3 separate regions of the Homo sapiens genome follow, and all the other regions are linked to region 3. Evidence: promoter capture Hi-C in human tissues and cell types (Jung and others, 2019). All regions are on one chromosome and are shown on one strand. Each heading gives the region's core, a stretch centred on a gene start or on the middle of the fragment in contact. The rest is flanking DNA. Distances are from core to core; before and after follow the strand shown.

Region 1 (3,493 bases), core at 905-3,404, 430 kb before region 3:
TAACAATATTGTATGGTATACTTGAAATTTGCTAAGAGGGTAGATTCTAAGTGTTCTCACCACAAAAAAGAAAAAGGTAACTGTTGATTGAGGTGAGTATTTCACAATCTGCATGCATATAAAATCGTCAAGTTGTATAATGTAAACATATGCAATATATTTGTATCATTTATGTACCATATATAGTATAAGATATACACTATATTAAATACAATTCGCTGGGTGCAGTGGCGCATGCCTGTAATCCCAACACTTTGGGAGGCCGAGGCAGGTGGATGACCTGAGGTCAGGAGTTTAAGACCAGCCTGGCCAGCATGGTGAAATCCCATCTCTGCTAAAAATACAAAAATTAACCGGGCATGGTGGCGGGCACCTGTGATCCCAGCCACTCGGGAGGCTGAGGCAGGAGAATCATTTGAACCCAGGAGGCAGAGGTTGCAGTGAGCCGAGATTGCACCACTGCACACCAGCCTGGGCAACAGAGCAAGATTCCGTCTCAAAAAAAAGTACATCCTATACCTCGATAAAGTTGAGAAAAAAAATCTCAGAACTCCTATATATGAAATGGGAATATCCATATAAACCCATCATGTGTTTTCTCTTAGGTAAACAAAGATCTAATTTTCTAGTCATAGCAACTAAAAATGCCTAGGAGAAATGACAGCACAGGAGCACTGAATACCTCTAACACCATGTATGGTTTCTACCATTTCCCACGAAAAGGAGCTGGGGCCAGGGCTAGGTGGCTCACTCCTGTAATCCCAGCACTTTGGGAGGCTGAGGCAGGAAGATGGCTTGAGGCCAGGAGTTCAACACTAGCCTGGACAACATGGGGAGGCCCTGTCTCTACATAAAATCTTTAAAAACAAGGAGCCAGGGCTTCTGGAGGAATGGCTGATTCCAAGTCCCAGCAGGTCATGGGGCAGGTAACGCTGGGGTCTTGTGAGACCAGGAAGCAAGGAAGCTTCCAAACCCTAAGGGATGCCTGGTAGCTACAGATGAGACAAGTGAGCATTAAAAAAAAATCCAGTACATATCAAAATCAAAATCTGGGCCAGGTGTGGTGGCTCACGTCTGTAATCCCAGCAATCAGGGAGACCGAGGTAGGAGAACCACTTGAGCACAGAGGCGGAGGTTGCAGTGAGCCGAGATCATGCCATTGCACTCCAGCCTGGCTGACAGTCAGACGATGTTGCAAAAAAAAAAAAAAGTCAAACTCTGTGCTTTCATAATACTAAAACAAATACAGCTCAGGCTTCTGAAAACTGGCCAAGAATCCAGCTCTTGGCAGGGAGTGGTGGCATGCTCTTGTACTCCCAGCTACTACTCAGGAGGCTGAGATGGGAGGATCACTTGAATCCAGGAGTTCAAGACCAGCCTGGCCAACGTAGCGAGACACTGTCTCTACAATAATTAGTAACAATTTTTTTAAAAAAAACCTAGCACTTAACCTGCCTCCCTTGTACAAATGAGTCCCAGGTTATAAAAAGAGGATGAGGAAAAGTTCTGCTTCCGATTCCAGCTGATCAGCTGTGACAGGAGAGAAACAGATAATGATCCCACAGGATCCAAAACCATCAGGTGTAAAACTGATGGGAGCCCAACAAGGGGTAGACAGGAACTCAGTCTACTGCTTGATCTCACATCATCAAGAGAAACCAGCAACACCTACCTCCTGAACAAGAACAAAATGCACCTGTGAAGTCATCGTGCCAAAATCTCAAACCCGAATCTGATCATGCATTCAGGGCACTTCCTGCTATGATGAAACGTTCTCTATCTGCACTGCCTAGTACAGAAGCCATTGGCCTCTGTGGCTATCACACAGCTGAAGTGTGGCAGTGTGGCTGAGGAACTGAGTGTGTAATTTTATTTCATTTTAATTTGTTAATGTAAATAGCCATGTGTGACGAGTGACTATGGTATTGCACAGCACAGCTCTGACACCTTAACCAACACCATGGGGATGTGATCTGCAAAATCCCTACTAGGGAAGAGAATGTCAACTAGAGGACAAACACCCAGAGTTTTCAACAAATAAATCACAAGAACAAAGAAAAGGAGACGGAGTCTACCAACAGATGAATGGATAAAATGGTCTGTGCGCATGGTGGTATATTACTCAGCCAGAGAAAGGAATGAGGTGCTGAAGCATGCTACAATGGAGATAGACCTCAAAAACATGATGTCTCGTCAAAGAAGCCAGACACGAAAAGCCTCATATTGCACGATTCCAATGACATGAAATATCCAGAACAGGCAAATCCACAGACACAAAAAGCAGACTGGGTGTTGCCAGGGACTGGAGGAGAGGGAATGGGGAGTAACTTCTAATGGGTATAGGGTTTCCTTCTGGGTGATGAAAACGTTCTTGAATTATAGTGATGATGGTTGTACAACTCTGTGAAAACGTAAAATCACTACATCAGGCCAGGCATGGTGGCTCACACCTGTGATCCCAGTGCTTTAGGAGGCCAAGGTGGGAGGACTGTTTCAAGTCTGGAGTTTGAGACCAGCAAGGACAACATAGTAAGGCCCCGTCTCTACAAAAAAATTTAAAAATATAGTCAGGTGTGGTGGCATTTGCGTGTGGTTGAAGTTACTCGGGAGGCTGAAGCAGGAGGATCATTTGAGCCCAGGAGTTCAAGGCTGCAGTGAGCTGTGACTGGGCCACTGCACTCCGGTCTGGATGACAGAGGGAGACCATGTCTCCAGAAGAAAAAAAAAAATTACTAAATCAAATGAGTGAATATTATGGTATGTAAATTATAGCTCAATTTCTTAAAGTGCTAATCTGTTTAAAAACAAAAAGAACTGAGCAATGACTTGTGCCTGTAATCTCAGCAACTTGGGAGGCTAAGGCGGGGGGATCACTCAAGCACAGGAGTTTGAGACCAGCCTGCGGCAACACAGTGAGACCATATCTCTTAAAAAAAATGTGTGTGTGTGTGTGTGTGTGTGTGTGTATACACACAAACCCACCTTATAAAATAAAAATAAGCAAGTAAGGCCAGGCATGGTGGCTCATGCCTGTAATACCAGCACTTTGGGAGGCCAAGGCAGGCAGATCACCTGAGGTCAGGAGTTCAAGACCAACATGGCGAAACCCCGTCTCTACTAAATATACAAAAATTAGTGGGGCGCCTGTAATCCCAGCTACTCGGGAGGCTGAGGCAGGAGAATGGCTTGAACCAGGGAGGTGGAGGTTGCAGTGAGACAAGATCACGCCATCGCACTCCAGCCTGGGCAACAAGAGCAAGACTTCGTCTCAAAAAATAAATAAATAAACAAACAAGTAAAACCCAGTATAGGCATACCCTGGAAACCAGGGGTAGGTATCAACACTTAGATGACCCACTAACCTTGGGCAGTACCTTCCACTCTGACAGGTGGGAACAAGACATAGAGTTAAGTAAGATAAAACTCTTGGTAAAAACACCAAATCCCTTTGCAATTCTGTTTCAAACCTGTAGCTCAGCAGTCCCAACCTTTT
Region 2 (3,121 bases), core at 503-3,002, 390 kb before region 3:
AGGCAGAGGGCGGGTGGATCACAAGGTCAGGAGATCGAGACCATCCTGGCTAACACGATGAAACCCCGTCTCTACTAAAAATACAAAAAATTAGCCGGGCATGGTGGCAGGCGCCTGTAGTCCCAGCCACTCAGGAGGCTGAGGCAGGAGAATGGCATGAATCTGGGAGGCAGAGCTTGCAGTGAGCCGAGATCGCGCCACTGCACTCCAGCCTGGGCGACAGAGTGAGACTCCGTCTCAAAAAAAAAAAAAAAAGAAGTTCAAGCTAAGGCCGATTGGGTGTCTTACACTTGTGATCCCAGCAGTTTAGGAGGCCAAAGTGGGCAGATCGCTTGAGTCCAAGAGTTTAAGACCAGCCTGGGCAATAGGCAAAACCCTGTCTCTGCAAAAAATACAAAAATTAGTTGGGCATGGTGGTGCATGCCTGTAGTCCCAGCTACTCTGGAGGCTGAGGTGGAAGGATCATTTGGGCCTGAGAGGTCGTGGCTGCAGTGAGCTGATTGCACCACTGCACCCCAGCTTGGGCGACAGACTGAGAGCCTGTCTCAAAAAAAAAAAAAAAGTTCAAGTTATCCAGGTGCACTGATTCACGCCTGTAATCCCAGTGCTTTGGGAGGCCAAGACAGGGGGATCACTTGAGCCCAGGAGTTTGAGGCCAGCCTGGGCAACATAGTGAGACCTATGTCTCCTCCTGGTCTCCTTAAAAAATAAAACATAAAAACTTACAAGCTTAGTAGACTGGAAGGGTGGTGAAGAGAGTTCACTAATCTGCTAGTAAGCAGAGCGTGGTGTGTGCGGTCAGCACCTCCTACGTGCCAGGTCCCGACTGTCCACCTGGAGGCAGCAGCAAGCAGGGCCAACAGTGAAAGAGAAATGGATGAGGCAGTCCTGGGGATGCTGTGGGCAAAGAGAAGCAGGTCAAAGAGAGGGAGAATAAGGTGGGGTCGAGGGGATGCCGCTGAATTGGGAAAGCCAAGGGAGGTCTCTCTTGCAGATGACGTTGGCACAAGCCTGGAGGAGCTGAGGAGAAACAGTGTAGAGATCTGAGAAGGGCACAGCCTCGGTAGAGAGGCTGGGGCAGCAAGAGGCCTTTGTGGCAGCAGAGGAATCCGGGGGGTGGTCACACAGGACCTCAACAGATGTTAACGCTGTGGCCCTTTCTCAGGGAAGGGAGGGTACCTCTGGGACCTGTGGTGGATGTGGCCACTAGGGTGGAGAGCAGCCTGTGGGCGGGAACCAGGAGGAGGCTCAAACTTAAGACAGTTGGACCAGGGCATGAGGAGCAATGAGAAGGGGAGAAGATGGAGTGGGTGACACCTGCTTGTGGGCTGGGTGTGCAAAAGCCAGGAGTCCAGATGACCCCAGGGTTGTCAGCTTGGGCAGAAGAGGGACAGAACTGCCATTCACTGACCTGGAGCCAGGTTATGGAAAGGGGGCAGGTACACTCCAGATGGCCTGGGGGACACAGTGCTGGGGGCAAGCAGGGTCACCTGGGACACATGTGGAGAGACTTCACCAGTCCTTCATGGTCAGGGAGGAGGGCGGGGAGCCAGGCGAGATCGCTCTGCTGGTGTCAGGCAGTGCCATGTTGCTTCCAACCCCTTCCGAGTGACCTAGGTCAGTCTGACCCCAATTATGGCAGGAAGGAGGGACCTTCCCGAGTCCAGAGCTCATAGTCCTTACTGATGTGCCAGGTTTTAGGCTGAGCTGGCATCTGGTGCCCCTTGGTGTGGCCTGGATAAGGGCACGGCCAGATGAGGGCACAGCAGGACCTTGGTGTCAGGCACAGCTGTACTCTAGCTCAGCCCTGCCACCGAGTAGTTTTGTAACCTTGGCGTGTAACCCCTGAGCCACGGATTTGTCTGTAAAATGGGATGGCCACACTTACCCAGCAGGTAGGAGGTACAGTGAGGATTAAACTGAACGCGGTTCCTGGTGGGTGTCCTGCACATGCTGCTGTCTCCTTGGGGCTCTGCACCTGTCCTCCTGTCTGCCAGTGACTGTGGGTGGAAGGGAGGCCGTGGTGGCTGCAGCTTTCCTCTGCAAACCTCCACCTCGCCCACAGGGCTTGGCTTTCCTCCAGCTGTCCAGGAAACCACCATCATGATTGTTAAACACAGATTTGAACATTCACGAAGAAACTTCCAGGCTGAGCCAAACCCTCTTCCTCCCACTGCACCTCCAAGCAGCCTTCCTGAAAGGGAAAAGAGTACAGACCTGCCCTCTGGGGACCCCTGTGCCCTGCCATGACCAGCCTTTCCCCTTCCTTCCCTACCCGTCATCCCAGGGCCCAGGTCGTGCACAGCTCCCAGAAGGGCCTGACGGATGCCCCGTTTCTCATCTCAGCCGGTGGGTTCTGTCACCTCTTTTCTCCAGGCCACTTTCTCATGGCAAGGGGCCCCCCAGTGTAGCAGGTCCTGTCTGGTGTCCCCTGGTTTGCAGGGGTGTCTCTTCACTGTTTGTGCCCCTCTTCCTGTCCCAGCCCATAGCATAGCTCCTCCCTTCATACCTCCCCTCCTTAACTGCCCTGCAGAGACACTTCTGCCCACACCGCCTCACCAAGACCACCTCATGCCATTATGGAGGGGCCGCCTGCATCCAGTAACTCACGCACACACACAAGATACACACATGTGCACGCATATGCACACACACATGCATACACACACGCACACACACATGCATACACACACACAGCTACTTTATATAATACCCTCGGAGATGCCTCTGAAGAGAACAAAGGGAATTTCCCTCCGCCTTTGAAGGTCCAAGTCTAAGCCTGTTGAAATGAACTGACAATAAGAAGATTAACAGGATAAAAAAAGGTGTGCGGTGGCTTACACCTGTAATCCCGGGACTTTGGAAGGCCAAGGCAGGGGGATCACTTGAGCCCGGGAGTTCAAGACTGCAGTGAGCCATGATGGAGCCACTGCACTCCAGCCTGGGTGACAGAGCAAGATCCTGTCTTGAAACAAAAAAGTTATACATATTTATTCACGTGCATAAGCACAGGAGCCATATAAAACATTATGAAAACTCAAAGAAGGGCCAGGTGGTTGAAGCTGAAATACCTCTTTGTAGGGGAGAGGGCAGATGGGAGGCTGTAGGTAACTTTAGAGGG
Region 3 (3,290 bases), core at 323-2,822:
TGAGGCACAAAAGGCCTGGTTTCCCGAAGTAAATGGCAGCGTCTCTCCTTGTCTGTCTTCTCCATCCAGAATTCAGATGGAGCAGGGGCGCCCTGGGCCCCTATAGGCTCCCATCCCCCAATCTTGTTTTTTGACAGTCTGGAGTCTGAACTGGAGATTTAAGTAGGAGAGGGTGGGGCTTCAGTCTTGGGCAGACAAATGGGGGCTCCTGAGCCCCCCTCAGACACTTTTACCCCCTTGGCTGGTTGGGGACCAGGAGAGAGAATCCAGGCCTCTAAGGGACTCCTGGAAAAGGGGACTTGGAGCCGTTCCCTTCCCTGGGCGCTGCAGCTGGGGGCGGGGCTGCGACCAAAAGTGGGTAATTGCACCCCCCAACTCTCATTTCAGGCACCCCCATCCGCAGCAGCCTTGGAGGCCAGGAACCCTTTATTCCTGGGCGCCCGCATCGGGTGGGGACCGGGAGGAGGGAGATGAGACGCCCGGACCGGGAGGGGTCCCGAAACTCGAGCAATGGCCAAAAATAATAACACGGAGAAGGCTCTTTGCGCAAAAGAAGGAAGACAAACTATGCGTCGCTCCGGGCAGCCGGCGTTACCTGGAGTCGGCGGGCGGTGGCCGCCGAAGCGATTACTCACCGCGTGGCGCACCCCACCCGCGGGCCGCTGAGTGGATTTTTCCGTGGCGGGGTGTGAATAGGTCCCGGGGAAAGAGCTTCTTACCGCTCTCCTCCTGGGAATCCCTCTTACTGCGGTGCGGGACCCAGTTCCCGCGCAGGCCTGGGTCCCGGCTCCCACAGGGGACTACATCTCCCCGTCTGCCCACGCAGGAGCTCCCTCCCGAGGCCCCCGGGGCGCCCAGAGCAACCTCAAACCCATCCCGCGCGCGAAGGGGACAGCGCAGCCAGGGCGAAGGCGAGGGACTCCGTGCCTTCCTGCTTTTTCTCCTTTCTTCCAGCAAAGCCTGGGGCCGAGGCTACTCGCGGAGAATCGAAAAGAGGCAGGATGAGGTGGGAGGGCTGGAACCCGCGCGCCGAGGGCGTGGGGCTGGGGGTGACTTTTAGGCCCCTGGGAAGGCTGAGGGGCTGGAGATGGGGGTAGGCGGGACTCAAGGACCGCTCGGTGGGGGGGGCGGGGCCAGAGCTGGGGTGGGGGCCGAGACAGAAGATTGGGCCGTGGAAGGGGGAATGGAGGAGTGGGGCAGGGTTGGGGACCAAAGGGGCCACTGAAGAGGCACTGGGCTGAGAGGAGGGTGCAGGGAAGTGGGCAGGGTTATGGAAACGGGATTGGGGGTGCCGGGTCCCAGACTGGGGGTGGGAAGCCTGGAGCTGGCAGGGTTGGAGAGGGAGGTCCTGGGCCGGTAGGGGTTGAGTTAGGGGGCTTTGGGCCGCGGGATAGGGCGCGCGCGGTTCTCGGTGGGGCGGAGGCGGGACGGGCGGGGCGCGCGGTGCCCGCGGGCGGGCGGGCGGCGGGGAGGCCGGTGCGGGGCCCGCCGCCCCCCCGGGGCCGGGCCGGGCCGGGGGCGGGGCCGGGCGGGGCCAGCGGCGCATTAGCGCCTTGTCAATTCGGCTGCTCAGACTTGCTCCGGCCTCCGCGTCCGCGCCCAGCGACGTGCGGGCGGCCTGGCCCGCGCCCTCCCGCGCCCGGCCTGCGTCCCGCGCCCTGCGCCACCGCCGCCGAGCCGCAGCCCGCCGCGCGCCCCCGGCAGCGCCGGCCCCATGCCCGCCGGCCGCCGGGGCCCCGCCGCCCAATCCGCGCGGCGGCCGCCGCCGTTGCTGCCCCTGCTGCTGCTGCTCTGCGTCCTCGGGGCGCCGCGAGCCGGATCAGGAGCCCGTGAGTACCCGGCGCCCCACTCCTTCCCCCCTGCCAGAGCAGAGGGCGGGCGCCCCGGGGGCAGCCGCGGGGGGAGGGGGCGCGGGCGCCACCTGGACGGCCGGGGAACAAAGGAAGGCGCCCCCGGCGCAGCCCTCGGGGCGCCCTCACCTGCGGGGCACACGGCGCCGCAGTCCACTGTCCAGAGAGTCCTGCTTCCGCGCCCGAGGCCCTGTTACCTGGGCAGCTGGGCCGAGGGCGCCAGGCCAGGCCCCCGGGGGCTGGGGGGATCGCGGCCTGAGACCCTCTGCATGCCAGGACGTGGCGGGCGCACGCGTCTGCTTCGGTGGACTCTGGGCCCCTGGGACTGCAGGGCACCGCTCCCAGGCGGGGGCGCACGCGGTTGGCGCGCTGGGTGCGGGCCCCCAGCGGGCCCCCCCAGGCGGAGGGATGAGCCCCACGGGGAGGGCGGGGCTGCAGGGGGGCCGCTCTGGCCGCCTGGCGCGCAGCCCGGGGTCCCGGGGGACTTGTGTCTCCACGGGCCGGCGCCACCGCCCTCCCCCTGCGGGACCCGGCGCACGGGGGTCCGCGGAGTCCCCGCCACCGGCGGCGCTTAGAACCGTTTTCAGCCAGGCTGCGTCGGGCGGAGAGCCTCCAGCGAGAGGAATCTTTGTGAGCGAGTGGGTGAGAGGGAGAGGGAGCGGGAGCCAGTGAGTCCGGGCACCAGCGGGCCCAAACTTTGAGGGGGCCCACTGGGAACCCGCTGCCCTACGGGCCAAGACCCCTGCCCTGGAGGGACTTCTGGCCTCAGGCACTCTGGGGCCCCCCATCCAAGGAACACCCCCGCAAGGATACGTCTCCGTATGCAGACCCGCTCTGGGACACACCCAGAGACACACAAAGAATCACACTGGCTTGTGGCCCGTCACCCTCGCCCTCAAACTCGCGCACACTGCATCCCAGGTGCACATTCGCGCACCATCGCGGACGCACACACATTCCATCCCCGACACACACATTCACGGTCACACACATCCCACAGGGGAGGCGACCCAGGGGCACAGAGGCAGGCACCACTCGCCCCAGATGTTCAGTCACTCCACGCACCCCATCCAGGCGCACGGGCCACCCCGGGGGTCGCCGGGCACACACTGCTCCCAGGCTCATCCACCCTGTGCTGGGCTGTTTGCGGGCTGCCTGTAGGGCTCCTCCGGGAAGGGGCAGGGTCCGGGCATCTTCTAGGGGCACTTGCTGAAAGCCTGGCTCTCCCCTGGCTTTCAGGTGAGGGGCTACCTCGGGCCCTCCCAGGGCCCCTGACGGCTCTGCCAGGCGGTGGGCAGCGCCTGTGAGTGCCACTGTGAGCGCCAAGCTTTGTTTTCAGCCAGTAGAGCAGCAGGCGAAGGTGTAGGGGGTGGGGGGGCACTGTAAGTGTGTTTTTTCCTTTAAGGGGGGAAGAAATTAAATAAAAGATTCTCACACCTC

Evidence for each region. Contacts are between HindIII fragments. The study calls those that stand out against the background at their distance.
Region 1: a fragment that was not itself captured here is called in contact with the fragment with the promoter of CRLF1 in region 3 in 2 of the 25 tissues and cell types used here (lymphoblastoid cells and spleen).
Region 2: a contact is called between a fragment that was not itself captured here and the fragment with the promoter of CRLF1 in region 3, in 1 of the 25 tissues and cell types used here (lymphoblastoid cells).

Annotation. Positions count from the first base shown.
Region 1 is chr19:19,038,372-19,041,864 of GRCh38, reverse strand. The region is part of intron 2 of ARMC6 (armadillo repeat containing 6); the gene reads right to left. Among named protein-coding and RNA genes, the nearest start is that of ARMC6, 6.5 kb to the right of the region's middle. The HindIII fragment of the contact is 5,677 bases long and covers 1-3,493 here.
Region 2 is chr19:18,998,152-19,001,272 of GRCh38, reverse strand. All of the region lies in intron 8 of SUGP2 (SURP and G-patch domain containing 2), which reads left to right. Among named protein-coding and RNA genes, the nearest start is that of SUGP2, 34 kb to the left of the region's middle. The HindIII fragment of the contact is 7,801 bases long and covers 1-3,121 here.
Region 3 is chr19:18,605,081-18,608,370 of GRCh38, reverse strand. It overlaps CRLF1 (cytokine receptor like factor 1), which reads left to right and starts at 1,572. Exons shown (of 9, transcript NM_004750.5): 1 at 1,572-1,829. The coding sequence starts at 1,715. RefSeq lists an enhancer at 1,532-2,450. The HindIII fragment of the contact is 9,492 bases long and covers 1-3,290 here.